7 separate regions of the Homo sapiens genome follow, and regions 2, 3, 4, 5, 6 and 7 are each linked to region 1. The links are contacts of gene promoters, found by promoter capture Hi-C in human tissues and cell types (Jung and others, 2019). All regions are on one chromosome and are shown on one strand. The core of a region is centred on a gene start or on the middle of the fragment in contact, and the rest is flanking DNA. Distances in the headings are between cores, read along the strand shown.

Region 1 (3,911 bases), core at 594-3,093:
AGGCTGAGGCGGGCAAATCATCTGAGGTCAGGAGTTCAAGACCAGCCTGGCCAACATGGTGAAACCCTGTCTCTACTAAAAATAAAAAATTAGGCCAGGCACGGTGGCTCACACCTGTAATCCCAGCACTTTGGGAGGCCGAGGCAGGCAGATCACAAAGTCAGGAGATTGAGACCATCCTGGCTAACATGGCGAAACCCCGTCTCTACTAAAAATACAAAAAATTAGCCGGTCGTGGTGGCAGGCGCCTCTAGTCTCAGCTACTCGGGAGGCTGAGGCAGGAGAATGGCATGTACCCGGGAGGTGGAGCTTGCAGTGAGCCAAGATTGCACCACTGCACTCCCAGCCTGGGAGACAGAGCAAGACTGTCTCCAAAAAATAAAAAATAAATAAAAAATAAAAAATTAGCCAGGTGTGGTAGCACGTGCCTGTAGTCCCCAGCTACTTGGAAGGGTAAGGCAGGAGAACTGCTTGAACCTGGGAGGTGGAGGTTGCAGTGAGCCGAGATCACGCCACTGCACTCCAGCCTGGACAACAGAGTGAGACTCCGTTTAAAAAAATTCTGTGCTCTCTCTCTGTCTCTGTCTCCCTTTGTGTCTCTGTCTCGCTCTCACTTTCACTCTCCCATCCAGGTTCTGAAAGCAGGTGGGCTGAGGTGGAGGGAGCGGAGGGTGGACCCTCTGAGGCCCCCAGGGGCCGGCAGGGCTGGGCGGGGTGGGGAGTGGGGGCTGCCACAGACCACGGTTCTGCAGAGGCCAAAATAGCACTAAAGGGAAGTGGGCAGTTTTCATATGAACAACGATTGCCAAGAGCTGGCTTCGGGGAAGTTCTCGGGGCTGGGCTGGAGGAGCTACAGTGTCTGAATCCCGCCTGGAAGGACGCTCGAGACCACCCTGCCGGTTCTCCCAGCCTTCTCCGAGCTGAGCTGTGGTTGGGGACACTGGGGTTGGGGAGGGGGCAGCCTGGCTTGAAGCCCTGGATGGCTTTATCCACTGGACTCTGCTCTGGGGTCTGTTGGTTTTTTCATTTAGTTTTTAATTATATTTTTTTATTTTTATTTTTTAAAGAGATGGGAGTCTCACTATGTTGCTCAGGCTGGTCTCCAGCTCCTGACTTCAAATGATCCTCCCGCCTTGGCCTCCCCAAATGCTGGGATTACAGGTTGAGCCACCGTGCCCGGCTGGTCCTGTTGCTTTTTCCAAATAACTCTGGGCTTCAAATGAGCCTAGCTGGGAGGGAGAGAGGGAGGCGGGCGGGTGCAGGAGGGGCCTGAGCAGCCCTGGTCCCAGGGACAGAGTTGAGGGCCAGGTAGGGGGCTGGGCAGGGAGGCAGTGGGGGTTCTTCACCTGACCTGGGGCAAGACCTGGGCCCTGGCCTGTAATCCCACCGTTTTCCCCTGACCTGTGTAGGGGGTTACAGTCCCATTTCACGGATGAGGAAACCGAGGCTCCCAGGCCAGGGCAGCCACTGTTTTGGCTCTCGGCCACTTACTTCACCAGTCTCTGGCAATGATGGGACCACCCTGGGATGTCCCAAGGCTACACAGGCTGGACAGGGGAAGGCGAGGGCAAGAGAGTGGCCAGAAGCCCAGAAACAAACTGACCCCTGAAGTGCCACAGAGCCTGGTGCCAGGGTGAGAGTGGGGCTGCGGGAGGGGGCGCCAGGCATCCAGGCCTCTTCCCACCCCACCCAGTGGGGCCAGGAGCTCCTGGGGGATGGGGGACAGCCTGAGGACTGAGGCACCCCTGGGAAAGGCTTACCTGAGAGTCCAGGGTTCCTCACCACGGCCGCCCCATCCTGAGCCCGCACACCTGCCCAAGCTGATGCCAACACCACTGACACTGGCGGGCGGGCAGGGCGGGCTTCCTGCCAGCCACTGAATCATCCGTACATCCGCCGCACTGCCGGACAGGCTCAGCTATGAAGAGGGCGGTGGGGGGAAGGGAGGGGAGACGGGGGAAGGAGGCGGGAGAGAGAGAGAGAAGAGAAACAAAGTGAGAGGGAGAAAGAGAAGAAAGAGAGATAGGACCGGGCGAGGTGGCTCACACCTGTAATCCAAAAACTTTGGGAGGCCGAGGCGGGTGGATCACGTAAGGTCAAGAGTTTAAGACCAGCCTGGCCAACATGGTGAAACCCCGTCTCTATTAAAAATACAAAATTAGCTGGGCATGGTGGCATGTGTCTGTAATTCCAGCTACTCGGGAGGCTGAGGCAGGAGAATCGTTTGAACCTCAGAAGCAGAGGTTGCAGTGAGCCGAGATCGCACCACTGCACTCCAGCCTGGGTGACAGAGGGAGACTCCGTCTCAAAAAACAGAAAGAAAAAGAGAGAGACACAGCAGAGAGACACAAGAGAACAGGAAAATATGGACACACACTAAACACACACATAAACACAAAAAGTCACACAGAGAGGAAGAGAGATACACTCCAATAGACAGGGAGCAAGATAATGAAACTGAGGTGCTCCTGCAGATGGCAGATATGGAGACACACATACGCTAAAAAGACACACACAGGCAGAAATTCACACCCATGGGCCGGGCGCGGTGGCTCATGCCTGTAATCCCAGCACTTTGGGAGGCCAAGGCAGGCAGGTCATGAAGTCAGGGGTTCAAAACCAGCCTGACCAACATGGTGAAACCCCATATCTACCAAAAATACAAAAATTATCTGGGTGTGGTGGCGGGTGCCTGTAATCCCAGCTACTCGGGAGGCTGAGGCAGGAGAATTGCTTGAACCCAGGAGGTGGAGGTTGCAGTGAGCCAAGATAGCGCCACTGCACTCCAGCCTGGGTGACAGAGCAAGACTTCATCTCAAAAAAAAAAAAAAAAAGAAGAAGACACACACAGGCAGAAATTCATACCCATGGGCCAGGCACGGTGGCTCATGCCTGTAATCCCAACACTTTGGGAGGCTGAAGCAGGAGAATCACCTGAGGTCTGGAGTTCAAGACCAGCCTGGCCAACATGGTGAAACCCCATCTCTACAAAAAATTTAAAAATTAGCTGGGCATGAGATGGACCAAGACACACACAGAGAGACACACAGAAAGATACAGAGAGCCACAGACTGTCAGAGACACACACAGATGGGGAGAGAGCAAGAAACAGGGAGATAGAGGCCAGGTGCAGTGGCTTGCACCTGCAATCCTAACATTTTTGGAGGCTGAGGCAGGAGGATCGCTTGAGAACAGGAATTTGAGACCAGCCTGGACAACAGAACGAGACCCCATCTCTAAAAAAATTTTTTTAATTAGCTGGGTGTGGTGGCACACACCTGTAGTCCCAGTGTTTTGGGAGGCCAAAACGGGAGGATTTCTTGAGCCCAAGAGTTGGAGGCTGCAGTGAGCCGTGACTCTGCCACTGCACTCCAGCCTGGGGGACAGCAAGACCCTGTCTGTCTGTAAAAACAATAAATAGGCCGGGCGTGGTGGCTCACATCTGTAATCCCAGCACTTTGGGAGGCCAAGGCAGGTGGATCACCTTATTTAGGTCGGGAGTTTGAGACCAGCCTGGCCAAAATGGTGAAACCCCATCTCTACTAAAAATACAAAAATTTGCCGGGTGTGATGGTGGGTGCCTGTAATCCCAGCTACTTGGGAGGCTGAGGCAGGAGAATCACTTGAGCCCAGAAGGCGGAGTTTGCAGTGAGCCAAGATCGTGCCACTGCACTACAGCCTGGACAACAGAGCGAGACTCCATCTCAAAAAAACAAAACAAAAACAAAAAAACCCAAAAAACACAACAAAAAAATTTAAAATAATAATAATTATTATTTAATTAATAGCTCAATGGCCTTGGGCAGCTGTTTAATGGTCAATAGCACAAGGCAGTCCACCCACTTGTGGGATGTGGCTTTATTGACCTCAGGTGCCAGAGCATCCTGGCCTCCACAGGGAACTATCTCACT
Region 2 (4,215 bases), core at 629-3,128, 360 kb after region 1:
CTGGTGGTGCATGCCTGTAGTCCCAGCTGCTCGGGAGGCTGAGGCAGGAGAATCGCTTGAACCCAGGAGGCGGAGGTTGTAGTGAGCCGAGATCGCGCCTCTTCACTCCAGCCTGGGCGACAGAGCAAGACTCCATCTCAAAAAAAAAAAAAAGCCACTGAAGCAGAGTTGAAGGAAGAGTGGGGCAACATGGCAAAACCCCACCTCTACGAAAAATACAAAAAAAAATTAGCTGGGTGTGGTGGTGCACGTCTGTAGTCCCAGCTGCTCGGGAGGCTGAGGTGAGGGGATTTTCCCGGCTGGAAAATAGTGCAAAGGCCCTGTGATAGCCTTGGCACAGTCCAGGAACAGCAGAGGCCAGAGTGGCGGATCAAGGAAAAGAGACGCTACAGATAAGGAGAGGAAAGAAGCTGGATTTTAGGTTTTAAGCAGGGGCGTAAACTCATCAGATGGATACTGTAAAAACGCCACTCTGGCTGGGCTCAGTTTGTTAACTATTGAAACGCTCATGAAGAAATACATGGGGAGTTATTACACTAGTCTCTTCTTTTGTGTGTGTTTGAGATTTTCTTCTTCTTTTTTTTCTTTTAGTTTTTTCAGACAGAGTCTTGCTGTGTTGCCCAGGCTGAAGTGCAATGGCGTGATCTTGGCTCACTGCAACCTCTGCCTCCCCGGTTCAAGTGATTCTCCTGCCTCAGCCTCCCAAGTAGGTGGGATTACAGGCATGCACCACCATCCCTGGATAATTTTTGTACTTTTAGTAGAGACAGGGTTTTGCCATGTTGGCCAGGCTGGTCTTGAACTCCTGATCTCAAGTGATCCACCCACCTTGGCCTCCCAAAGTACTGGGATTACAGGTGTGAGCCACCGCACCTGGCTGGTGTAGTTTGAGTCCACAGGATTTGCTGATGAACAGGGTGCGAGATGGGAGAAAAACAGCTTGAGCTGAGCCCCTGAGTGCAAGGTGGTTCAGGGGCATTTGCAGAGACGGGCCCTGAAGAGGAGCAGATTTGGGAGTGGAAAGAATCACTCTCGGGTCTGGGCTCGTTGCCAGACCTGTGGCCTCCAAGGAGATGTCAGTTTCATGGCTGGGTGAACAAGTCCAGAGTTCAGGGGAGAGCCAAGACTAGAAGTCATCAATTTGGGAGTCACCCACAAATAAACAGTATTTAAAACCACGGGACTAGATGAGATCACCTAGGAAGTGGGTGTACACAGAGAAGGAAGAAGACCCAGGACAGAGCCGGGGGCCTCTCCTAAGCTTAGAGGTAGGAGAAGAGCAAGGAGGAGGCGGTGAAGAAGATGAGGTAGGAAGAAAACTCCAAGGAAGGGAAGTTGCCATCTGGTCCTCAACAGCCCCCACACCCCATCAGCACCAAGGTCACCCCCTCCTCAGCAGCCCCTGACTCTTGACACTCCAGCTCTTGCCAAGTAACTGCAACAGCCTCGGAACTTGCGGTTCACCCAGCTGGCTCTCCCTGCCGCCTTCTGGAGCCATCTTGGTAAAATGCAAATCTGAAGCCACAACTCCCCATTACACATTCAGGGTTAGAAAGCACGTCCATAGACCAGGCGTGGTGGCTCATGCCTGTAATCCCAGCACTTTGGGAGGCCGAGGCAGGCAGATCACCTGAGGTCAAGAGTTTGAGACCAGCCTGGCCAGCGTGGCAAAACCCCATCCCTACTAAAAATACAAAAAAAATTAGCTGGGCGTGGTGGCACATGCCTGTAGTCCCAGCTACTTGGGAGGCTGAGGCAGGAGAATTGCTTGAACCCAGAAGGCAGAGGTTGCAGTGAGCCAAGATTGCACCACTACACTCCAGCCTGGGCAACAGAGTGAGACTCCATCAAGAAAGGAAGGAAGGAAGAAAGGAAGGAAGAAAGGGAGGGAGGGAGGGAAAGGAAAGGAAAGGAAAGGAAAGGAAAGGAAAGAAAGAAAGAAAGAAAGAAAGAAAGAAAGAAAGAAAGAAAGAAAGAAAGAAAGAAGGAAGGAAGGAAAGAAAAGAAAGAAAGAAAAAGAAAAGAAGGAAGGAAGGAAGGAAGGGAGGGAGTCCATAGCCTGGGGACCAAGCTCTCCATGGCCTGGGTCCTGCACACATCAAAATGGACACCTGTAACATTCCCCGCTCATCACACAGGTGCACATGAAGGAACACACGCCCTCACACCCCAGGAGCAGCACAGGAGCCCGCACTGTGGCAGGCCAGGTCTCCCCAACAACTGTTTCAGTACTGACTGAGTGGTTAATTTAAATATTAAAAGCCAGTGCCCTTATACAAAGGCTGGGATGTAACAAAAGCCCACCAAGAGTTTTGCCCAGGCCTTTCCTGGGCCTTAAATCACGACAAAATAATGAAGGAATTCTTAACAGGACCATTTAGAATTAAGCAAGTTTTATTTTGGGTCTGAAGAAACTCCCCAGGCCTCCACAAACAAATTTATTGGCGGTCTGAAGGAACTCCTCAAACCTCCATGATTTAGCAGGAGATAACAGGAATCACCCCAGCACCTGGACCCATTTAGATAAGTAAATTTACTGAGGTTCCAGAGGAAGAGCTTCGGGACTCAGACCTTAGTCATGGATTAAAAGAAATTAATCACTTATGTCTTCAGATGAATGCACACTTACACATAGACGTATAGCTTAGAAGGTGTATAAGCTCTGGAAAACTTTGTAACTTTGAGTTAGTCGGGTGATAATTTCCACGCCTTCTCCCTGTAAACGGTTACAGAAATAAAAACTCTCTTCCTCCCCAGTTTGTGTGCATCTCGTTATTGGGCCACAAGAAGTAGCAGCCCGACCCTCAGTTTGGTCTGGGAACAGTACCACAAGCCATTCTCCCCTCCCTCCTTCCTGGATGGAAAGCTCACACCCCACACCTGAGCCTCAAAGTGCCAGATCACAGTTTCCCAGCTTCTGTGGCTTCTGGAAATACCCTCCTCCCATAGAAAGAAAGAGAAAGGCCAGGTAGGTTCCTCACACATGTAATCCCAGCATTTTGAATGCCAAGGAGGGAGGATGGCTTGAGCCCAGGAATTGGAGACCAGCCTAGGCAACATAGCAAGACCCCATCTCTACAATTTTTTTTTTTTAATTAACCAGGCTTGGTGGCAAGCACCTGGAGTCCCAGCTACCCAGGAGGCTGAGGCAGAAGGATTGCTTGAGCCCAGGACGTAGAGGCTGCAGTGAGCTAGGATTGTATCACTGCACTCCAGCCTGAAAACAGAGCAAGACCCCTCTCAAAAAAATAAAATTAAAATTAAAAATATAAAGGACAAAAGGGAGAGAGGGAGGGAGGAAGGGAGGGAGGGAGGGAGGGAAGGAGAAACAAGGAAAAGCTCCTGCCATTCCTAGCCTACTTTGGGCTTTGTTTTGTTTGTATTTTTTTCTTTGAGATGGACTCGCTCTGTTGCTAGGCTGGAGTGCAATGGCGCAATCCTGGCTCACTGCAACTTCCGCCTCCCAGGTTCAAGCAATTCTCCTGCCTCAGTCTCCCGAGTAGCTGGGACTACAGGTGCCCGCCAGCATGCCCAGCTAATTTTTGTATTTTTAATAGAGACAGGTTTTCGCCATGTTGGCCAGGCTGGTCTCGAACTCCTGACTTCAAGCGATCCACCCACTTCGGCCTCCCAAAGTGCTAGGATTACAGGCATGAGCCACCACACCTGGCCTGCCTTGGGCTTTGAATGTAAGGATGCAAGGAATGTTCAAGTTGCTGCCACCATTTGTGACCAGAAGGAGCCAACAGTGCAAACACACAATGTGGCAAGTGAGAGGTTGGCACCAGGGCCCTTGTGAGATCAGTGGGCCCCTGGCCTGGCCCCTGTGCTGCTGACCACTGGCCTTCTTGCTGTAAGAAAAATACCAAACCCCTAATATTTAAACCACTTGGGGTTGGTTTTTGTCGTGTTTTTTTTTGTTTTTTTTTTTTTGTTTTTTTGAGACAGTGTCTGCTCTGTTGCTCAGGCTACAGTGCAGTGGCACAGTCCTAGCTCACTGCAGCCTCAACCTCCTGGGTTCAAGCGATCCACCTCAGCCTCCTGAGCAGTTGGGACCACAGGCACGTACCACCACACCCAGGTAATTTTTGAAGTTTTTTGTAGAGACAGGGTCTTCCTATGTTGCCCAGGCTGGTCTCAAACTCCTGGGCTCAAGCGATCCTCCAGCCTCGGCCTCCCAAAGTGCTGGGATTACAGGTGTGAGCCACTGCACCC
Region 3 (4,274 bases), core at 270-2,769, 380 kb before region 1:
ACCTCTGCCTCCCAGGTTCAAGCCATTCTCCTGCGTCAGCCTCCTGAGAGCTGGGACTACAGGCGCCTGCCACAACGTCCGGTTAATTTTTGTATATTTAGTAGAGATGGGGTTTTGCCATATTGGCCAGGGTGGTCTCAAACTCCTGAGCTCAGGTGATCTGCCTGCCTCGGTCTCCCAAAGTGCTGGGATTACAGGCGTGAGCCACTGTGCCCAGCCTGACTCCTGTTTTTTGAGACAGGGTCTCACCCTGTTTCCCAGGTTGGAGTACAGTGGTGCCATCATAGCTCACTGCAGCCTTGAACTCTTTGGCTCAAGCAATCCTCCCCACTCAGCCTCTCAAGTAGCTGGGGCTCCAGGCATGAATCACCATGCCAGACTAAGTTTTTTTAAAATTTTTTGTAGAGAGAGTCTCTCTCTGTTGCACAGGCTGTTCTCGAACTCCTAAGCTCAAGCGATCCTCCTGTCCGCAGCCTCCGAAAGTGCTGGGATTACAGTTGTGAGCCACTGTGTCTGGCTCTTTTAATCTTGAAAACTCTGGGAAGAGCTCACTTCTGTTTAGGAGGCTGCCTTGGGAACTGCATCTCCTGGCGTGGTGCTCTGTGCTGCTTAGAGTCTGCTGACCCCGTCTGGGTGGCTTGGCCTCCCGTGCGCAAGCTGCCAGAATGGAGGCCCTGTTCCCCATGTGGGGGTTGCCCCAAAGAGCAGGGAGCTTCCCACAGGACAGAGGCTGGGCACCTGCTTGGCCTGGTTCCTCCTTTTCCCAGGGCTCCAACACCCACCACCTCAGGTCCTCCCAAACCCTGCAGGTCCCTGGCCTGGTCCGTCCACACCCACACTCAGCAATCTCTGCACATCTCTGAGTTGCTGATCTGTCTTCAGGCACGGCCCGCCAGCCCCCCTGCGTGCCCAGAGACACTGCAAACATCAGCCATTCCAGACAACGTCCTCCTCCCGTGTCCCTATCTCGTGGAGTAATGCCTCTAATTCAGCCACACAAAGACCCCACGCTCCACATCCCCTAGAACCCTCGTCTTCTCCTGTGACCCAACACGGGCCTTCCTTTCAGGACTAGGATGTGGGAAGAATCAAGGCCACCCTTGTCCAAATCCATGCAGACAACAGTGATGGAGTCCTGGGCCCAAGGACCAGCTCCTAGAGCCTGCAGGGAAGCAACAGCACATTCCATCTGTCCCCATGCCACTGAGGAATCTTTGGTGGCAGGATTCTCAGCAGGCATGGCCATGCATGCACAGAACAGAGAAAGGATGGCCTGGATCACACACATCACTGTGTGCAGATGCTTTCCTAGACACTGCAGCCAAAGACACAGAGGCTCAGAGAGGTAAAGAAACTTGCCCAAGGTCACACAGCCTCTAAGCACCAGGAGTACTCTGTGTCAACCCCAAAGCCCTGGTCTTTCCACTCTACCATGAGCCCTGGGTTTCCTGAGGTCTCAGATTCCTCTACAGTTTCTTTCTTTTTCTTTTTTTTTTTGGAAGAGTCTTGCTCTGTCACCCAGGCTGGACTGGAGTGCAGTGGTGCGATCTTGGCTCACTGCAACCTCTGCCTGCTGGGTTCAAGTGATTCTCCTGCCTCAGCCTCTCGAGTATCTGGGATTACAGGCACCCACCATCACACCTGGCTGATTTTTGTATTTTTAGTAGAGATGGGGTTTCACCATGTTACTCAGGCTGGTCTCCAACTCCTGGCCTCAGGTGATTCGCCCACCTCGGCCTCCCAAAGTGCTGGGATTACAGACGTGAACCACCATGCCCAGGCTCCCCTACAGTAGCTGTAGAAAGAAGGCTTAATCTTTAAGATAGTTTCCTCTAATCTGTTGCTCTCAGCCCACAATGCCACACCTCTGTCTTCTCCTGTGTCGGGACAGAGCGAGACTCAAAGTCAGAGCTCTACGAAACCTGCAGGACAGAAAGAAGCTTAGCAGGCCTCTCAAAGACGAGGCCCAGACCGGGCACGGTGACTCACGCCTATAATCCCAGCACTCTCAGAGGCCGAGGCAGGTGGATCACTTGAGGTCAGGAGTTCCAGACCAGCCTGGCCAACATGGTGAAACCCCGTCTCTACTAAAAATACAAAAAATTAGCTGGGCGTGGTGGTGCATGCCTGTAATCCCAGTTACTCAGGAGGCTGAAGCAGGAGAATCCCTTGAACTGGGAGGTGGAGGTTGCAGTGAGCTGAGATTGCGCCACTGCACTCCAGCCTAGGCGACAGAGCAAGACTCCGTCTCAAAAAAAAAAAAAAAAAAAACACCAAACAGGCTGGGCGCGGTGGCTCACATCTGTAATCCCAGCACTTTGGGAGGCCGAGGTGGGTGGATCACCTGAGCTCAGAAGTTCGAGACCAGCCTGTCCAACGTGGTGAAACCCCGTCTCAACTAAAAGTACAAAATTTAGCCAGGCGTGGTGGCAGGTGCCTGTAATCCCAGCTACTCCGGGGGCGGAGGCAGGAGAATCGCTTAAACCTGGGAGGCGGAGGTTACAGAGAGCCAAGATCGCGCCATCGTACTCCAGCCTGGGGGACAAGAGCGAGACTTCATCTCAAAACAACAACAACACACAAAAAACCCAAACAAACAAAAAACATGGGACCCCAAACTTACTATGCCAAAGGGAAATGTTAAGCTTGGGAACTGAGTCACGCAATAGCCTTTTGTTCCTAAACAGATGGCTGCAAGATAGAAGGCCACCTAGCTCCCCTGGTGGCCTCCCTCACCCTGGCCATGTAAATTCACAGCTTATCTTCACAGGCAGGGGACAAAGATAAGAATAGAAATCATTGCTCTGTCTACCCAAGACAAATGCCTATATGACTTCCTCTACTCTATTTACTTTATCTTATGTAAAAGGCAGATTTACTGAGCACAGGATAAATACATCATTAACTATTCCTCTTCCCCCTTTATTTTTTTATTTTTCGAGACAGAGTCTCCCTGTTTTCCAGGCTGGAGTGCAGTGGCATGATTTTGGCTCACTGCAACCTCCGCCTACCGGGTTCGAGTGATTCTCGTGCCTCAGCCTCCAGAGTAGCTGGGATTACAGGTACCCGCCACCACACCTGGCTAATTTTTTGTATTTTTAGTAGAGATGGGGTTTTGTTATGCTGCCCAGGCCAGTCTCGAACTCCTGACCTCAGGTGATCCACCTGGCTTGGCCTCCCAAAGTGCTGTGAGCCACCGTACCCAGGCCCTCTTTCCCCTTTAAATACCAAAGTCCTCAAAACTCTGGAAAAAAGCACAGGCCACAGACCCTATTGCAGCTTGAGTCTCTTTTTCCTGGCTGTGTCCTCCCCCATGGCAAAATAAATCTTTAAATTGATTGAGACCTGTTTCAGGCACTTTTGGTTTACATGGCCCACGGGGGTCTATAGCAGGGATCCTGACCCAGCTGGGAGTCAGGGAGGACTTCCCAGAGGAGGTGACCACCACACGGGGCCCAAAGCTCCAAGGATGTGGGCTCATCTGCACGCTGGGGCTCATCACACGGACCTCCAAGGCAGTTGTGAGCGGTGAGTAAGACACAAGGAAACTTGTAGTATCCTGTGATTTCAGGTGCTCAACATGCTTTAGCCAATCAGGAAACTTCCCCTCTTCCTTCCAAGTCTTGCCTGGTCTGGGAAGAAGTGCAACCCTAAACCAGGCTGCAGCTAACCAGGAGTGACACTACGGGGCAGTCGATAGGATACTATGGCAATTCTATATGGGGCACAGGTCCCAGGCGGTGGACCAGAAGTGGTGGGAGTGTGCATGTCAGGAAAGTGGGGCCGGGCTGGCTGAGGGGGCTGGCAGTTTGGGGAGGCGTCCTGACCACCTCTGGAGTGTGGGAGGGGTGGAGTGGGGCTAAATGCCTTTGTCAATAACACCAAGAACTGGCCGGATGTAGTGGCTCACGCCTGTAATCCCAGCAATTTGGGAGACTGAGGCCACGAGTTTGCAACCAGCCTGGGCAACATGGCAAGACCCTGTCTCCACAAAAAAAAAAAAAAAAAAAGAAAAAAAAAGAAAAATTAGCTGGGCATGGTGGTGTGTGCCTGTAATCCCAGATACTTGGGAGGCTGAGGTGGGAGGATTGCTTGAGCCTGGAAGGTCAATGTTGCAGTAAGCCATGATTGCCCCACTGCACTCCAGCCTGGGTGACTGAGCTAGATCCTGTTTCAAACAAACAACCAAACAAAAATTAAAAAATAAAAAACAAGCTTGGCACATACTACGTGCAGACACTGTGCAAGGCCCACAATATACCTTGTCTGTGGGA
Region 4 (3,964 bases), core at 1,253-3,752, 510 kb before region 1:
AAAAAAAAAAAGAGGCCGGGAGCGGTGGCTTATGCCTGTAATCCCAGCTCTTTGGGAGGGTGAGGTGGGCGGATCACGAGGTCAGGAGTTCAAGATCACCCTGGCCAAAATGGTGAAACCCCGTCTCTACTAAAAATACAAAAAAAATTAGCCAGGCATGGTGGCGGGCGCCTATAATCCCAGCTACTCGGAGGAAGGCTGAGGCAGAGAACTGCTTAAACCTGGGAGGCAGGGGATGCAGTGAGCCGAGATTGCGCCACTGCACTCCAGCCTGGGCGACAGAGCGAAACTCCGTCTCAAAAAAAAAAAAAAAAAACTCTTAGCACCTGGTACATACAATGTGCTCAGTATTTGTGGAGGGATTAAATGAACATATGAATAGTTTAGTCCCTAATTATATGCTGCAGTCAAGTATCTGGCACTATCTTAAACATAAATTCCACAAGAAAGGGATGGTAGGTAGTCCAACTGCCCATCATAAACCCTACTAAAATACTGAAACTCTAAAAACGTATTATTCAAATCTTAGTACATAATTCCTCTGAGACTCCTTTTTTTACATATATAATTGTGTATTCATTAAGTGTCTGATTGGCAGCTATAAAAATAAAAAACACAGAAGTTTTCCAACGCTAACCTCCTCAATTACAGAGATCCTAAAAAACCTACAGTACCAGCTGCAGTAAGTGTGCCACGTGTGGTCATGTGAGTCAATTATATTTGAAATTATTTACATATACCTTTCAAAATATGAGAAATAAAAAAGCCAGAGTTTGACTTAGGAAGACGTAAAATTCATCACAAAATGAATTTACTTAAAATCAATTTAAGGGAAAAAAATCAGGTTAAGTAATGAACAGAGAGTTAGGCCACAGCAGAAGGAACACAGGTAACAGGTAAGTGACTCAGGTTTGGGAAGCTAGGCCCTAAGAGAGAACTGCGCAAGAAAGAAACCTCCTTTACACGGTTCTTAGCACTCCCATGACAGCTAGACCTGAAACAAGTCTGATAAGGTTTTCTCTGCACACATTAGAGATAACATACCTGACGGCAATTCACCTTAACCCAGAAATGTAGTCACGGTGTTTACGAAAACTGAGGCATGCGGTCCTATTAGTCCAAGGCCGATTTCCCAAACCTAAGTCACGTATGTTTTAAATGTTTACCACCGACTCCAAGTACAAATAAAACGCCACAAATGGAAGTGCACAGCTCAGAGCGCACCGGCAGTGGGTAAGTAATGACCCTGTATCCACAAACACGTCCGCGTCGGTGTCAAATTAGCCACTTCAGAACTCCACATAATTGCAAATGAAGATATCGAGGTGAAAACACTGTGAAAAATCGGACAGACTTATTTGATAACAAAGTTCTGTTTTTTTTTCTACCAATGATTTGGGAAATGTGAAAAGATATAAAAGGAGAAAATTAAGTCGTCTCCAAGCAAGCAGGAATATCTCAGTTTATTTTTGTCCGTCTTCCTACCAAGCATGAGTATTTTCCAAAACAAAACTAAGATTATCCTCTAGATGCACTTTTGCTTTTCAAGTTGCCTTGTTCTCAAGGCAGGATTTTTTTTTTTTCCACTGAACATTTTATATTAGAGATCTTTTTTCAGATTATTGGAAAACATTATCAGGATTTCAATGGCTATATATTTTTCTGTTATGAAGATATACCAAAATTTTATTTCCTAACTACGGGTATCTAAATAGCTCCTACCATTTGGAAGTAATCTTTCCAGAAAGAATATATGATACACATTATTAACCAGAGGTGTGCATGTAAGTTCTCACTTGACCTTCCTTGTTAATATTGAGACAGTTTTTTATCTTCTTAAAAAAATGAGGAATTTAATTGTTGATGTAATTTCTATATAATATACATATTTTTTATATATAATACATAAAATGTGTGTGTGTATATGCACATATGACATGGAAAATGCTACCTTTTAAAAGGATTACTTTACTCAGACCTGGTATTTCACTGGTCTTCTGAAAAGAAAGAGGTCTACTAGCAAAATTCTACTACTTAATCACAAATGTGAACATTAAATCAGGCTTATGGCACAATGTCTTAGTTTAAAAGAAATGAATGGCCAGGTGCGGTGGCTCATGCCTGTAATCCCAGCACTTTGGGAAGCCGAGGTGGGCAGATCACCTGAGGTCAGGAGTTCGAGACCAGCCTGACCAAGATGGAGAAACCCTGTCTCTATTAAAAATACAAAATTAGCCGAGCATGGCGGCGCATGCCTGTAATCCCAGCTACTCAGGAGGCTGAGGCAGGAGAATCGCTTGAACCTGCGAGGCGGAGGTTGCGGTGAGCCGAGATAGCGCCAATGCACTCCAGCCTAGGCAACAAGAGTGAAACTCCATCTCAAAAACAAATAAATAAATAAATAAACAAATAAATGAAAAGAAAAGAGATTTATTACTCCATCCAAAACAGTTAAAGTTCAAAAGGCTGACATAAGCTTCAGGTTCATGAGCCATTTATTTCTGGATTTTCGTAACCTTTCTTTAAAAGTCTTATACTATAAAAGCAAGTATTTACATTCTAAACCATTTTAATACAGCCTCTACAGGAGAATGGCGTGAACCAGGAAGGCAGAGCTTGCAGTGAGCCGAGATCGCACCACTGCACTCCAGCCTGGGCGACAGAGCCAGACTCTGTCTCAAAAAAAAAAAAAAAAAAATACAGCTTCTATCTGCTTTAAGATTTGACAAATCAAAATGGTTATTAGTCCTACCCTAAAAGCTTTATTTTTATAATTTTAATAACCTCCTATTAATATCTCCATAGAAAGGGCACAGCTGAGTAGTTGTAATATTTGTATGTTCTTAAGTTTTTTTCCTGTTAATGAGGTTTCTCACTAAAAACGAATTAAATTTCAACCATTTAATGCTGGACTGTAAACAATGCAAAATGTTTTAGATTAGAAAAATTATATTTATGAAAAAAGAAATCTGTATATTAAGTTAACACATGAAGTATGAAAAGATTTCTTGTATTAAGTGGAAGCTACTAATTGACTTATATTTTAGAAGCAATGAAGACAGACACGTTGAGTAGTTTGGAGTAGTCAAACACTAGAAATAACCAAGTGACATCAGTAGGTGACAGGTTATTAAGAGAGAAAGAGAGACAGACAGCAAACCAAGAAAGGTTACGCAGCAGCTAGAAAAAAAAACTAATAAAGTACCAAGATGTGCAGTTATGGGAGGGGGAGGCCTATGGAATATGTAATATTTTAAAATGTGCATTGTAATGTATGCTGAAAGCATCTGTGTATTTTCGCATCAAGATATGTACTGCAATTATTTCTCTAAGTAGACACAATAAGCTGGCATACATCCCTCAGTATTGGGACTTGGGAGCAGAGTGAGGGTGAAGAAAACTTTCCACTGTACAATTTACTGTACCATTTTCACATTTTACCACAAGAAAGAAGTACTTTCAGGGGAAGAAACTTACACAAGTATTGTGACACATTAATTTTAATTTTAATTTTTTTTTTGAGATGGAGTTTCACTCTGTCGCCCAGGCTGTAGTGCAATGGCGTGAACTCAGCACACTACAACCTCTGCCTCCAGGGTTCAAGCGATTCTCCTGCCTCAGCCTCCCAAGTGGCTGGGATTACAGGCATGCACCACCACACCCAGCTAGTTTTGTATTTTTAGTAGAGATGGGCGTTTCACCATGCTGGTCAGGCTGGTCTTGAGCTCCCGACCTCAGGTGATCTGCCTACCTTGGCCTCCCAAAGTGCTGGGATTACAGGTGTGAGCCACCGTGCCCAGCTGTGAGACATTAATTTAAAAGGAAAAACGCAATGCTCATTTAATAACTATTAATATGAAGTGATAGTTAATAATTCTATTAGCTGAATTTTCAAATAATTCAGGATAAACTGGCTCAGCTGAGTTCAAGCTTATCTTTGGAGAAAAAAACAGGTTTGAAGCAA
Region 5 (3,892 bases), core at 764-3,263, 340 kb after region 1:
GGGATCCCAGACACGACGGCTTCCCAGGTGCCCGGCCATCCTCACCCATCTAGCACAGATATGGGGGGCAGCTGGGGAAGCCCAGAGACCCCTGCATTAGCCCCCAGCATGGTCCTGAGACCCTGCAGCCTCCCCCTCCTGCCACCCAGAGGGCCTCCATCCTAGATAATAACCCCAAGTCTCCCAGCAGCCCCCTTCTCAATACCAACAGCTGCCCAAGGTCAGCTGCCTCTCCCCAGCACCCTCCATCAGCCCCTAGAAGTGCAGCCGAGAGTCCGGGCGCGGTGGCTCATGCCTGTAATCCCAGCAGTTTGGGAGGCTGAGATGGGCGGGTCACCTGAGGTCAGGAGTCCGAGACCAGCCTGGCCAACATGGCGAAACCCCGTCTCTACTAAAAATACAAAAATTAGCCGGGCATGGTGGCGGGGCACCTGTAATCCTAGCTACTCAAGAGGCTGAGGCAGGAGAATTGCTTGGACCCAGGAGGTGGAGGTTGCAGTGAGCTGAGATCGTGCCCCTGCACTCCAGCCTGGGGGACAGAGCAAGACTGTCTCCAAAACAAAACAAAAAAAGAAGTGCAGCTGAGAAGGCAAGGACCGAGGCACAGGGCAGGACTTCAGGAAAGCCCCTTGTCCTCTAAGTTTCAGTCCCACGACTGTCCAGCGGCCCCAGCTCTGGACTCTGAGACAGGAAGTCATCGTGGCCACAGCGGCCACTGGTCAAGGTCAATGATCAAGTCCACCTGACCATAGGGCAGCCTAGCAGGGGAGGGGCGAACAGGCACAGCTACTCTTGGGGCCATCGGGCATCTTGCCAGCTCCTTCTCACCCTGTCGGGGCAAAGCAGCTCAGGAGAGAGACAACAGGACCGGCACAGTCTGGCCTGGGTGGGGAGGCTGGCTGGGGGAGCTGGATTGAAGCGAGAAGCGCTAATAGGTTATGTCAGGCGAGCGCTCTGGGGAAGGGGCCGCGCCTCTCAGCTCTGGCAGCCCCACCTGGGGCCTGAGCCCAAGAGCTGGGGCCTGGAGAGAGACGCTGGCTCAGTGCTGAACCCAGTGTGCAGACCGGGGAGCAGGAAGGCAGGACAGAAGTGAGCCCCCATCCCCCACTGGGCCTGGGGCAGCAGGGGGGCTGGTGATAGACACACAGACCCCTCTGGTGGGCTAGGCAGGTCCCAAGTGACAGAGGCCACCCATGCTTACATGATGGGACTGGGCTTGGTGGAGAGCGAAGCCCCAGGGGGTGGGACCACCCCTCTGCTCAGGGGAACCCTCTTATTATGTATCCCCTCATTTCCTTTTCTGTCCAGTCCCCCCATCCTGGGCGCCAGGATCCCATCCCCAAACCCTCCCGACCCTGATCTCTCCCCGAAACTCCCGCTGCTCTGCGTGGACTTCACCAGCCCCTCCCCCATCCTTCAGTGCGCACTTTGACAGCCCCTAACACCGCAGCCTTTCCTGGGGTTGGGATGAGGTCAGGATGAACCGGGGGACAGGGAGAGGCCTGCAAATGAACCCCTCGCCCGGGAATGTGGGTTCCAGGGCTCCGGGAGGTGGAGAGGGTCTCAAAACAAGAGGCGGGGGGGTCAGGGAAGGGCCAGGAACTCGGGCCGGGGCCTGCGGGCAGACTGAGGAGGGGGGCCCTTACAATCACAACGGGGCAGCCAGGGCCCTGTGTGTCTTGGCGAAGTGGGACCCCTGGCCCGCCAGGTATGTAACAATTCCAGCCATTTCCTGCCCTATTAATGAAAAAGGGACTGATATAAATACACGCTCAGCATAAATAAATACAGGCCAGGCCCAGGACTGCATAGCAGACAGATTGCGTGAAGCTGCTGGCTGGCCTTGCAGCCAGCTCCCCCCACCCTGCCCATGCCCCGTCCACCCCCTGACACCGGCCACCAGTTGTTTTCTTCCAGCAGGCCAGGGCCCCTCCATGCTCACAGGCCTGAGACAGACGGACTGACTGCTCCCACCCCGGGCCTCAGAAGCTGCAGCCCCCAGAAAGGCAGCAGGCCTGGGAGATGGGGAGCCAGGGAGTGGGGTCCCAAGAGCCTCCCATGCCTGCTCTGAGCGGGGACCGCACGTGCACAGACCAGGCAACAGCCCTGTGACATCTGGGGTGTTGTGATTATACCCTGATCACAGGAGGGGAAACTGAGGCTCTCAGGGTTTAGTAAATTGCCAAAGGTTACACAGCTGAGAGGTTGTGGATCCAGCATCCAAACCCAAGGCTCTCTGACCCCAAGGCCTCTGCTGTGCCCACCATTGTGAGTGGCAGCCGAGGGGAGATTCTGGCCTTCTCCCTTTCCCCCAGGATGCCAGAGACCTTGGAAGGCCGGAAGAATTCAAGTCCTAGAAGAGATCTTGCAAAAGCAGCAATAACTCCAGGACAGGGGATTCAGGGAGCCAGAAGTCAGCCAGTGTAGGGCCTTATTGGCAGGCTGCGTAGACAGGGGGACTGCTCCTCTCCTGCCCCACCCCACCTCTTACCTGGGCACTGAGGAACAAGGCCTGGCATCAAGGAACCCCAAATGCTGACTCTCGGCCAGCCGCAGTGGCTCACACCTGTAATCCCAGCACTTTGGGAGGCCAAGGTGGGCAGTTCGTCTGAGGTCAGGAGTTTGAGACCAGCCTGGCCAATATGGTGAAACCCCGTCTCTACTAAAAATACAAAAATTAGCCAGACATGGTGGCGCTCGCCTGTAGTCCCAGCTACTCGAGAGATGAGGCACAAGAATTGTTTGAACCTGGGAGGTGGAGGCTGCAGTGAGCGGAGATCATGCCACCGCACTCCAGCCTGAGTGACAGCGAAACCCTGTCTCAAAAAAACAAAAACCAAACCAAATGCTGACTCCCTTATCGGGGATCACCCCACCCATCCCGCATTGCACAGACATGGGAACCGAAGTCCAGAGTGGGCAAAGAGAGCCTCATCCAAGGTCACACCCAGTGACCTAGGCGGGCAGAGGCAGAGGCAGAGGCACAGAATCCAAGCTTCTGTCCCCAAGCCCAGATCTTCTCCACGGGGCTTGGGCCACATTCCTGTCCATCCCCACTTTGGCCCCAAACTGCTCTGGGGCCTCCTCCTTTCCTCCAGTCCCTGCCTCAGCAAAGAGCTGACATCACCTACTCCTGCACTCATGCTTCCCTGAAAGCTGTGTGTATGTTCTAGAATCCCAGTCATGTTACCCCTCTGACCAGGTGCTTATAGGTCCTTCCTGGTACATGTTCTACCTCGTTGGCCAGATGGGACCCCTCAGATGTCCCTCCTAGAGCAGGACAGCCTTGCTGCTTAGACTTGGAGGAAGGGTCTGGAAGTTCACCCACATCCACCCTGAGCTGTAAGGGAGGCCCTCACTGAGCTGGGAACCCGAGTGGAGAAGAGCCACGCTCACACCACCACCCTCTGGCTTGGGAGTAGGTGAGAGGTAACTGCAAACACTCAAGAAACCATCCCTTCCCCTCTCAGCAGAATCACTCACCTGAAGGCTGAGTCTTGGGGATTGGAAGCATCACAGCCTGAGCTGGCACAGCAGCATCAGCCACCCATGCAGCAGGACCCTGTGTCCTTACTCACAGGTTAGGGGAGTGCTGAGATACTGGATAGGTTTCCCCTTTCCCCAGGGAGACAGATGGCTCTTCAACAGATAGCGGGTGAGTGGGTGTGGTTGGTTCTGTGGATGAATGGATGGGTGGGTGGGTGGGTGGATGGATGGATGGATGGATGGATGGATAGATGGATGCATGAATGGGTGGATGAATGGGTAGATGAATGGGTGAGTGGATGGTTAGGCAGATGGGTGGCTGAATGGATGGGTGGTTGGGAGGATGGATGGATGGATGGGTGAATGGATCAGTGGATGGATAGATGGATGGATGGATGAATGGATG
Region 6 (3,651 bases), core at 580-3,079, 300 kb before region 1:
TGATCTGCCCGTCTCAGCCTCCCAAAGTGCTGGGATTACAGGCGTGAGCCACTCTGCGTGGCCAGTTTCCACGTCTATAGAATTGGGGACAAGCAGCCCAGTTCCACAGTGCCACTGGGCTTGGGTATGGGGATTCAATGGTTGGAGGAAAAAGATCTCTAAACTGGGACACCCTATATGGGTATACAGGCAGCTGGCTATCCTCATGGCCCCAGAGTCGAGGTCTGCAGCCCCATAGCCCAGAGGCCTTAATGTAGGGGGTCCCTACAACCAAGACCACCAGCATCTCAGGTCTCTGACCTACCCCACCAGGAAAACCCTGACTGTGAAGCCTGTGGCAGGCAGTTGTGTCTAATAAATGCTGGTTTTCATCTGAGTCAGGTAGTGCTGGCAGCTATAAAGTCTGGCTTCCAAACGCAGTTCTGTGCTGCGTGGCCTGGGACAGGTAACCTCTCTGGGCCATAATCTTGCCTATTGTGCCAGCCCCAGCCTGGAGTCGCTCTGGTTAGGAAGGTGCACGCGGCGTGGGGCCAGGAAGCCTGTCCTCCAGGGTCCCTACTGGAAAATTAAAACACAGGGCATTCATTTTCTTCTAAGATGAAAACAAAAGCTTGCTGTTCCCTTTCTGCGCGGGAACACTGTAGACTATTAACAAAAAATAAAACAAATAAATCCAGCTGTTTCTCATCCATCACAGCTGAAAGAGCTGCTTCATCCCACAGTCACCGCTCAGCTGAAGACGCCGAGACCATGGCAGAAAACTCACCCACCTAAAGGCACCCAGAGCTGGTGGGGAAGAGGATGAGATTGGGGGCGGGTGACGAAGGCACATCCCTTCAGCCCACCCTCCCTACAGGTCACCAAAAGACCCTAGCATTTGGAGGAGGCTGGACTTAAGTTACTGCTAAGCAAATATCATTGTCACCCATAGGGTCCCTCAGGAAACCCTTAAAAGGCCCAGGGACGGGGGAGCCTGTCTTGTTCGCACTGCTAGGATAACTATAGGGTCATGTGCTCCTCCAAGGAGGCTCTGAAACACTCACTAGACCACTGCTGCCAAGTAGAACTTTTTTTTTTTTTTTTTGAGACAAAGTCTTGCTCTGTCACCTAGGCTGGAGTGCAGTGGCACGACCTCGGCTCACTGTAACCTCTGCCTCCCAGGCTCAGGCGATTCTCCTGCCTCGGCCTCCCGAATAGCTAGGACCACAGGCATGCATCACCATGCCTGGCTAATTTTTGTATTTTCAGTAGAGATGGAGTTTCACCATGTTGGCCAGGCTGGTCTCAAACTCCTGGCCTCAAGTGATCTGCCCCACTCAGCCTCTCAGGGTGCTGGGATTATATGCGTGAGCCATTGCGCCTGGCCAACCCAGTGTAACTTTCTATGACTATGAAAACATTCTACCTCTGCACTGTCCAATCCATAGACACCAGCCACTTCTGACTACTGAGCACGTAAAATGAGGCTGGTGCAACTGAACAACTGAGTTGTTTATTTCGTTTTAACGAATTCGAATTTAAATGAATCAGGGGCAGTGGCTCACACCTGTAATCCCAGCACTTTGGGAGGCTGAGGCAGGTGGATCACCTGAGGTCAGGAGTTTGAGACCAGCCTGGCCAACATGGTGAAACCCCGTCTCTACTAAAAATACAAAAAAATTAGCCAGGTGTGGTGGCGCACACCTGTAATCCCAGCTACTCCAGAGGCTGAGGCAGGAGAATCACTTGAGCCCAGGAGGCGGAGGTTGCAGTGAGCCAAGATCGCGCCATTGCACTCCAGCCTGGGTGACAGAGCAAAACCCTATCTCCAAAAAAAAAAAAAAAAATTGCAAATAGCCACATGTCACTAGTGGCCATGGCATCGCCCATCACTGCCCACATCAGCCACACCTCCATCAATGCCAAGCTCACAGTACTTTGGGACACAGGGCTGAGCTCCTGGGGCCCCCTCCTCATGAAAGTCACTCTGCATAGGGGAGGGGTCATCATGGAGAGAGTGTGGCACCCAGCCCCTTTTCCAGGGGTGTCTCCCACCGCTGCCCCAAACACCACTTAAGCAGCCCTTGAGCCACCTACAGCAGGAACAGCTTGAAGGAGGTCCTTTATTTTTCGGGGAGACTTTGTACCCAGAAGTTCGCTCTAAAAACTGGTCTTGCTGGGCCAGGCGCAGTGGCTCACGCCTGTAATCCCAGCACTTTGAGAGGCTGAGGTGGGCGGATCACGAGGTCAAGAGATTGTGACCATCCTGGCCAACATGGTGAAACCCGGTCTCTACTAAAAGTACAAAAATTATCTGGCCACGTGTGGTGGTGGGGGCCTGTAGTCCCAGCTACTGGGGAGGCTGAGGCAGGAGAATTGCTTGAACCTGGGAGGCGGAGGTTGCAGTGAGTCGAGATCACACCACTGCACTCCAGCCTGGCGACAGAGCGAAACTCCGTCTCAAAAACAAAACAAAACAAAACAAAACAAAACTGGTCATGCTGTGTGACTTTGGGCAAGGTACTACCCTCTCTGTGCTTCATCATCCTAAAATGCAGGAGCGCAGCTAACTGATGTTAGACAGATTTTTAATTTTATTTTTATTTAAAAAAATTTTTTTAATTGAGAGAGTCTCCTCTGTTGCCCAGGCTGAAGTGCAGTGGCACGATCTCGGTTCGCTGCAACCTCTGCCTCCCAGGTTCAAGCAATTCTCCTGCCTCATCCTCCTGAGTAGGCAGGATTACAGGAATGTGCCACCATGCCAGTCTAATTTTTTTATTTTTATTTATTTTTTTTTGAGACGGAGTCCCCCTCTGTTGCCCAGGCGGGAGTGCAGTGGTGCTATCTCTTCTCACTGCAACCTCCACTTCCAGGGTTCAAGTGATTCTCCTGCCTCAGCCTCCCGAGTAGCTGGGATTACAGGCATGTGCCACCAGGCCCAGCTAATTTTTATATTTTTACTAGAGATGGGATTTTGCCATGTTGGCCAGGCTGGTCTCGAACTCCTGACCCCAAATGATCCACCCGCCTCGGCCCCTAAAAGTGCTGGGATTACTTGCGTGAGCCACCGTGCTGGGCCAGATTTTTTTTTTTAACACTTCCATCACAGAACTTCCCCCCAGGAAAAGGCTAGAGGAAAATGGTATTATGATGTCCTCATTTGGGATAAATTGTTATAGGTCTAGGTATGTAGGCAATAGCGCCAGGGGAGTGATGTATTATACAAAGCTCGGTTTCTCTCTTCCTGCCCGAGATGCAGTTAGAACTCTTGCTTTAACGTTGGGGATTACATCTTTCTAGTGAATGGCTCCCCACACATTATCCCCCAGGTCACCTGCTAGGAGATAGGCATGTGGTTCATCCCAGGGACAAAGTGGGAATGGCAAGAGGGGTGAAGGGACAAGGGGACGAGGGCGGAGAGCCAGTGTTTATTCCAGGGCTAGATTTTTTTTTTTTTTTTTTTAAGACGGAGTCTTGCCCTGTCACCCAGGCTGGAGTACAATGGCACGACCTCGGCTCACTGCAACCTCCACCTCCCAGGTTCAAGCAATTCTCCTGCCTCAGCCTCCCAAGTAGCTGGGATTACAGGCGCATGCCACCACGCCCAGCTAATTTTTTGTATCTTTAGTAGAGATGGGGTTTCACCATGTTGGCCAGGCTAGTCTCGAACCA
Region 7 (4,264 bases), core at 872-3,371, 360 kb before region 1:
CTCGGGAGGCTGAGGCAGGAGAATCACTTGAACCCGGGAGGCGGGGGTTGCAGTGAGCCGAGATCACGCCACTGCACTCCAGCCTGGGCAATAGAGCGAGACTCTGTCCCCTCCCTCCACCAAAAAAAAGAAAGCCCTCTCTGCAGCCATTCCACTCTCAACTCTTGTTCATTCTCTCCTGCCCTCTAAAAGGTGATCCTTTTAGACCTGACCCCCCCGATGTGTGGCAGGCAGAGGAGAGCAAGCTACTTCTGGGAGGGGAGTTGGGGGAAAGGGCAAGTTAGTCTTTACTGAGGGTGGCAGTGAGCTGGCACTTTGGTGCTTGGTCCTTGGCAGATTCAATCACTTGCCTTTCTCATTGTCTCTTGAGCCCACTATTCCACTCTGGTCCCCACCACTTCCCCCAAAATTGCTCTGAACCATCCCACTGCAACCTGTTGCTTAGCACCTCCGTCTACTCTCAGGCATTAGGACTGACCTCCCAGCAGAGGCTGGTGCAACCAATCACCCCCTTCAGTAAGTTTCTCCCTGGGCTTCACCTGCGGACTTTCCACCTCTCTCTCCTTTTTTTTTTCTTTTTTATTTTTGAGACAGGGTCTCGCTGTGTCGCCGGGTTGGAGTGCTGTGGTGCAATCTCAGTTCACTGCAACCTCTGCCTCCCGGGTTCAAGCGATTCTCCTGCCTCAGGCTCCCAAGTAGCTGGGATTACAGGCATGCGCCACCATGCCCAGCGAATTTTTGTATTTTTAGTAGAGACGGGGTTTCACCATGCTGGCCAGGATGGTCTTGATCTCCTGACCTTGTGATCCGCCTGCCTCAGCCTCCCAAAGTGCTAGGATTACAGGCGTGAGCCACTGCGCCTGGCCCTCCATACATTTTTGTTGTACAAATAAATGAACTCAAAGGATTAACTACAAGCCTAAAGGTTTACACAGGCAGGACCAGTGTAATAGCTGCTGGTAGCCAGGAGGGGACAGCAAAGAGCCACCCTGTGTGGATGAGACCAGAGGGGTGGTGGGAAAGAGGGCGTGGCTGCAACCCACTTCAGGGACACACAACAAGCCCTAGGCTAGTGGTAGAGCCTGCCCTGGGTTCCGAAGTATAATAAAATGGTAAAGACTTAGGTTCAAATCTCTACCACACTACTGTGTGACCTTGAGAAAGCTGCTTAATCTCTCTGAGCCTCAGTCCCCTCCAATAAGGCCAGCTACTTGGGGAGATGACGTGGTAACGTGAGTGGGCTTTGTAACCGGCAAATCGTAAGTATGACGTGGTCAGGCATGGTGGCTCACACCTGTAATCCCAGCAGTTTGGGAAGCCGAGGCGGGTGGATCGCCTGAGGTCAGGAGTTCGAGACCAGCCTGGCCAACATGGCAAAACCCCGTCTCTACTAAAATAGGAAAATTAGCCTGGCATGGTGGCGGGCACCTGTAATCCCAGCTACTTGGGAGGCTGAGGCAGGAAAATTGCTTGAACTCGGGAGGCGGAGGTTACGGTGAGTTGAGATCACACGACTGCAGTCCAGCCTGGGGGACAGAGCGAGACTCCGTCTCAAAAAAAAGTGTGACGTGAGTGTTAGGTGTCTGTGGTGTGAGGGGCTGCTCAAATGTCCATAACTGGGGGACAGGGTAGTTACATAACCATGATACAGCCTGAAGAGGGAACAGAGCTTTTTAAAGACATGGGAACATGTTTATGTTTTAAGGTTAAATGTGTAAATTTATAGAAAGAAGAACAGTGAGATGTAAAATTAATAAGCTTGGGGGGAAATCTGGAAGAAATGTATCATCATAAAAATGAACAGCCATCTGGGTTGTTAGATTTCTGTATTTTCCAAATTTCTACCATGGGCATATATTTGCATTTCTCTTTAGGGTGTGTGTGTGTGTGTGTGTGTGTGTGTGTGTTTGTGTGTCTTTTAGAGAGAGGGTCTTACTCTGTCACTCAGGTTGAAGTGAGGTGATGTGAGCTTTGTGATCATAGCTCGCTGCAGCCTCAAACTCCTGGGCTCAAGTGACCCTCCTGCCTCAGCCTCCTGGGTAGCTAGGACTACAGGCAAGCGCCACCACCCACCACCATGCCCAGCTAATTAAAAAAAATTTTTTTTGTAGAGATGGGTTCTCACTATGCTGCCCAGGCTGATCTCCAACTCCTGGCTTCAAGCAATCCTCCTGCACTGGCCTCCCAAAGCGCTGGGATTATAGGCATGAGCCACCATGCCCGACCCCCTTTAGGTTTTTATGACCTACTAGAATGTTCTTCGGATGGAATATTACAGCAGCTACCTGGGTAGAGGGTTTCTCCCGCCTTAGTCACCACCGCTTCTTCCCAGCATATCCTGAACAGCCCCCGTTAGCTGTCCTGGGTTTTCTTTTTTCTTTCTTTTTTTGTGACCGGGTTGTGCTCTGTTGCCCAAGCTGGAGTGCAATGGCGCGATCTTGGCTCACTGCAACCTCTGCCTCCCAGGTTCAAGTGATTCTCCTGCCTTAGCCTCCTAAGTAGCTGGGATTACAGGAGTGCACCACCATGCCTGGCTAATTTTTGTATTTTTAGTAGAGTTGGGGTTTCACCATGTTGCCCAGGCTGGTCTCGAACTCCTGACTTTACGTGATCCACCCACCTTGGCCTCCCAAAGTGCTGGGATTACAGGCATGAGCCACCGCGCCTGGCAGTCTCCCTAATTTAATTCAGTGCCGCTGCAGGCAGGTGGGTGTGGCCTGGTTGGGCAGTATAGAGCTACCAGCTACCAATGGCGTTCAGCCCCCAGGGTCGAGCGTGGGTTGTCTCAGCCCCTTGCGGGCAGGGCTGGAGTTCCTTCTGGTATGAGTTGGGGGACCCAGTCCCCCCCATCCCTCTGCAACCCGAGGCCCCCCACCAGGTCCCCTCCAGTTCAGTCTGGTGCTTTCTAGTACCCCTGGCCCCCAGAAACCCCTGGCCCACAGCTCCCTTGACCTGAGGCCTGAAATTCACCCACTGCCCTCTGAGGCTTGGTCCAAGTCCAAGTATGCCTTCCTCTCAAGCTAGACGCCTGCCCGCCACTCAGCATGTCAGAGCAGGCAGGGCCTCTAGATTTTAGTGGGGAAACTGAGGCACTGAAGGCAAACGTGATGTCCTCAGCTGGGAAAATATTAAAGACATTCTGGGCTTATCTCTCTCTCTCTCTCTTTTTTAGAGACAAGACCTCGCTCTGTCACACACACTGGAATTATGGCTCCCTGCAGCCTCCAACTCCTAGGCTCGAGGGATCCTCCCGCCTCAGCCTCCCGAGTAGCTGGGAATACAGTCGTTCGTCCCCACCATGTCTGGCTAATTTAAAAAAATGTCTTTGCAGGATGGGATCTTGCTATGTTACCCAGGCTGGTCTCAAACTCCTGGGCTCAAGTGATTTTCCCATCTTGGCCTCCCAAAATGCTGGGATTATAGGTATAAGCCACCACGTCTGGCCTGAGTCATCTCTTTTGACCCAGAACAAAACCAGTCCAGGAGTGGCTGTACTCTCACCCTACACTGGGGAGGCTCACAGCTCTAGGGTGCAGTGGGGCTCTTGCAATTTAATGACTGATTCATCTTCAAAAAAGCACAATCTCAGCCAGGTGCGGTGGCTCACGCCTGTAATCCCAACACTCTGGGAGGCTGAGGCGGGCTGATCACCTGAGGTCAGAAGTTTGAGATCAGCCTGGCCAACATGGTGAAACCCCGTCTCTACTCAAAATACAAAAATTAGCCGAGTGTCATGGTGCACACCTGTAATTCCAGCTACTCAGGAGGCTGAGGCAGGCGAATCGCTTGAACTCGGGAGGTGGAGGTTGCAGTGAGCCAAGATTGTGCCATTGCACTCCAGCCTGGGCAACAAGAAGAGAAACTCCATCTTAAAACAAAAAAACAAAACAAAACAAAAACAAAAAAGCACAATCTCTTTCAGAATTTTTACCTTCTCGGGGTGGTTCTGTTAGGAAAGGCTTCCATGGGAACCTTCAATAAGTGACCTAAAAAAATCTCAGAGCCATTCTTTTTATTTTTATTTTTTCCAGATGGCGTCATGCTCTGTCACCCAGGCTGGAGTGCAGTTGCACAATCTCAGCTCACTGCAACCTCCACCTCCTGGGCTCAAGCCATCCTCCTGCTTCGGCCTCCTGAGTAGCTGAGACTACAGGTGCGTGCCACCGTGCCTGGCTAATTTTTAATTTTTTTGTAGAGACGGGGTCTTGTTATGTTGCCCAGGCTGGCCTCAAACTCTTGGCCTCAAGTGATCCTCCTACCTTGG

The links. Contacts are between HindIII fragments. The study calls those that stand out against the background at their distance.
Region 2: a fragment that was not itself captured here is called in contact with the fragment with the promoter of LAT2 in region 1 in 3 of the 25 tissues and cell types used here (aorta, lymphoblastoid cells and spleen).
Region 3: a fragment that was not itself captured here is called in contact with the fragment with the promoter of LAT2 in region 1 in 2 of the 25 tissues and cell types used here (dorsolateral prefrontal cortex and lymphoblastoid cells).
Region 4: a contact is called between a fragment that was not itself captured here and the fragment with the promoter of LAT2 in region 1, in 3 of the 25 tissues and cell types used here (dorsolateral prefrontal cortex, hippocampus and lymphoblastoid cells).
Region 5: a contact is called between a fragment that was not itself captured here and the fragment with the promoter of LAT2 in region 1, in 1 of the 25 tissues and cell types used here (dorsolateral prefrontal cortex).
Region 6: a contact is called between a fragment that was not itself captured here and the fragment with the promoter of LAT2 in region 1, in 1 of the 25 tissues and cell types used here (lymphoblastoid cells).
Region 7: a fragment that was not itself captured here is called in contact with the fragment with the promoter of LAT2 in region 1 in 1 of the 25 tissues and cell types used here (mesenchymal stem cells).

Annotation. Positions count from the first base shown.
Region 1 is chr7:74,207,938-74,211,848 of GRCh38, reverse strand. It overlaps LAT2 (linker for activation of T cells family member 2), which reads right to left and starts at 1,843. Exons shown (of 14, transcript NM_032464.3): 1 at 1,761-1,843. RefSeq lists silencers at 720-809, 1,920-1,969 and enhancers at 910-1,029, 2,250-2,359. The HindIII fragment of the contact is 33,709 bases long and covers 1-3,911 here.
Region 2 is chr7:73,846,493-73,850,707 of GRCh38, reverse strand. No RefSeq gene overlaps it. Among named protein-coding and RNA genes, the nearest start is that of METTL27, 6.1 kb to the right of the region's middle. The HindIII fragment of the contact is 7,829 bases long and covers 1-4,215 here.
Region 3 is chr7:74,583,108-74,587,381 of GRCh38, reverse strand. The region is part of intron 22 of GTF2IRD1 (GTF2I repeat domain containing 1); the gene reads right to left. Among named protein-coding and RNA genes, the nearest start is that of MIR10525, 11 kb to the left of the region's middle. RefSeq lists an enhancer at 1-182. The HindIII fragment of the contact is 6,527 bases long and covers 1-4,274 here.
Region 4 is chr7:74,719,476-74,723,439 of GRCh38, reverse strand. All of the region lies in intron 12 of GTF2I (general transcription factor IIi), which reads right to left. All of the region lies in intron 2 of GTF2I-AS1 (GTF2I antisense RNA 1), which reads left to right. Among named protein-coding and RNA genes, the nearest start is that of GTF2I-AS1, 7.5 kb to the left of the region's middle. The HindIII fragment of the contact is 4,068 bases long and covers 469-3,964 here.
Region 5 is chr7:73,867,181-73,871,072 of GRCh38, reverse strand. No RefSeq gene overlaps it. Among named protein-coding and RNA genes, the nearest start is that of TMEM270, 8.0 kb to the right of the region's middle. RefSeq lists an enhancer at 173-1,102. The HindIII fragment of the contact is 3,681 bases long and covers 173-3,853 here.
Region 6 is chr7:74,508,482-74,512,132 of GRCh38, reverse strand. All of the region lies in intron 2 of GTF2IRD1 (GTF2I repeat domain containing 1), which reads right to left. Among named protein-coding and RNA genes, the nearest start is that of WBSCR23, 22 kb to the left of the region's middle. The HindIII fragment of the contact is 5,923 bases long and covers 1-3,651 here.
Region 7 is chr7:74,563,650-74,567,913 of GRCh38, reverse strand. The region is part of intron 22 of GTF2IRD1 (GTF2I repeat domain containing 1); the gene reads right to left. Among named protein-coding and RNA genes, the nearest start is that of MIR10525, 30 kb to the left of the region's middle. The HindIII fragment of the contact is 5,280 bases long and covers 1-4,264 here.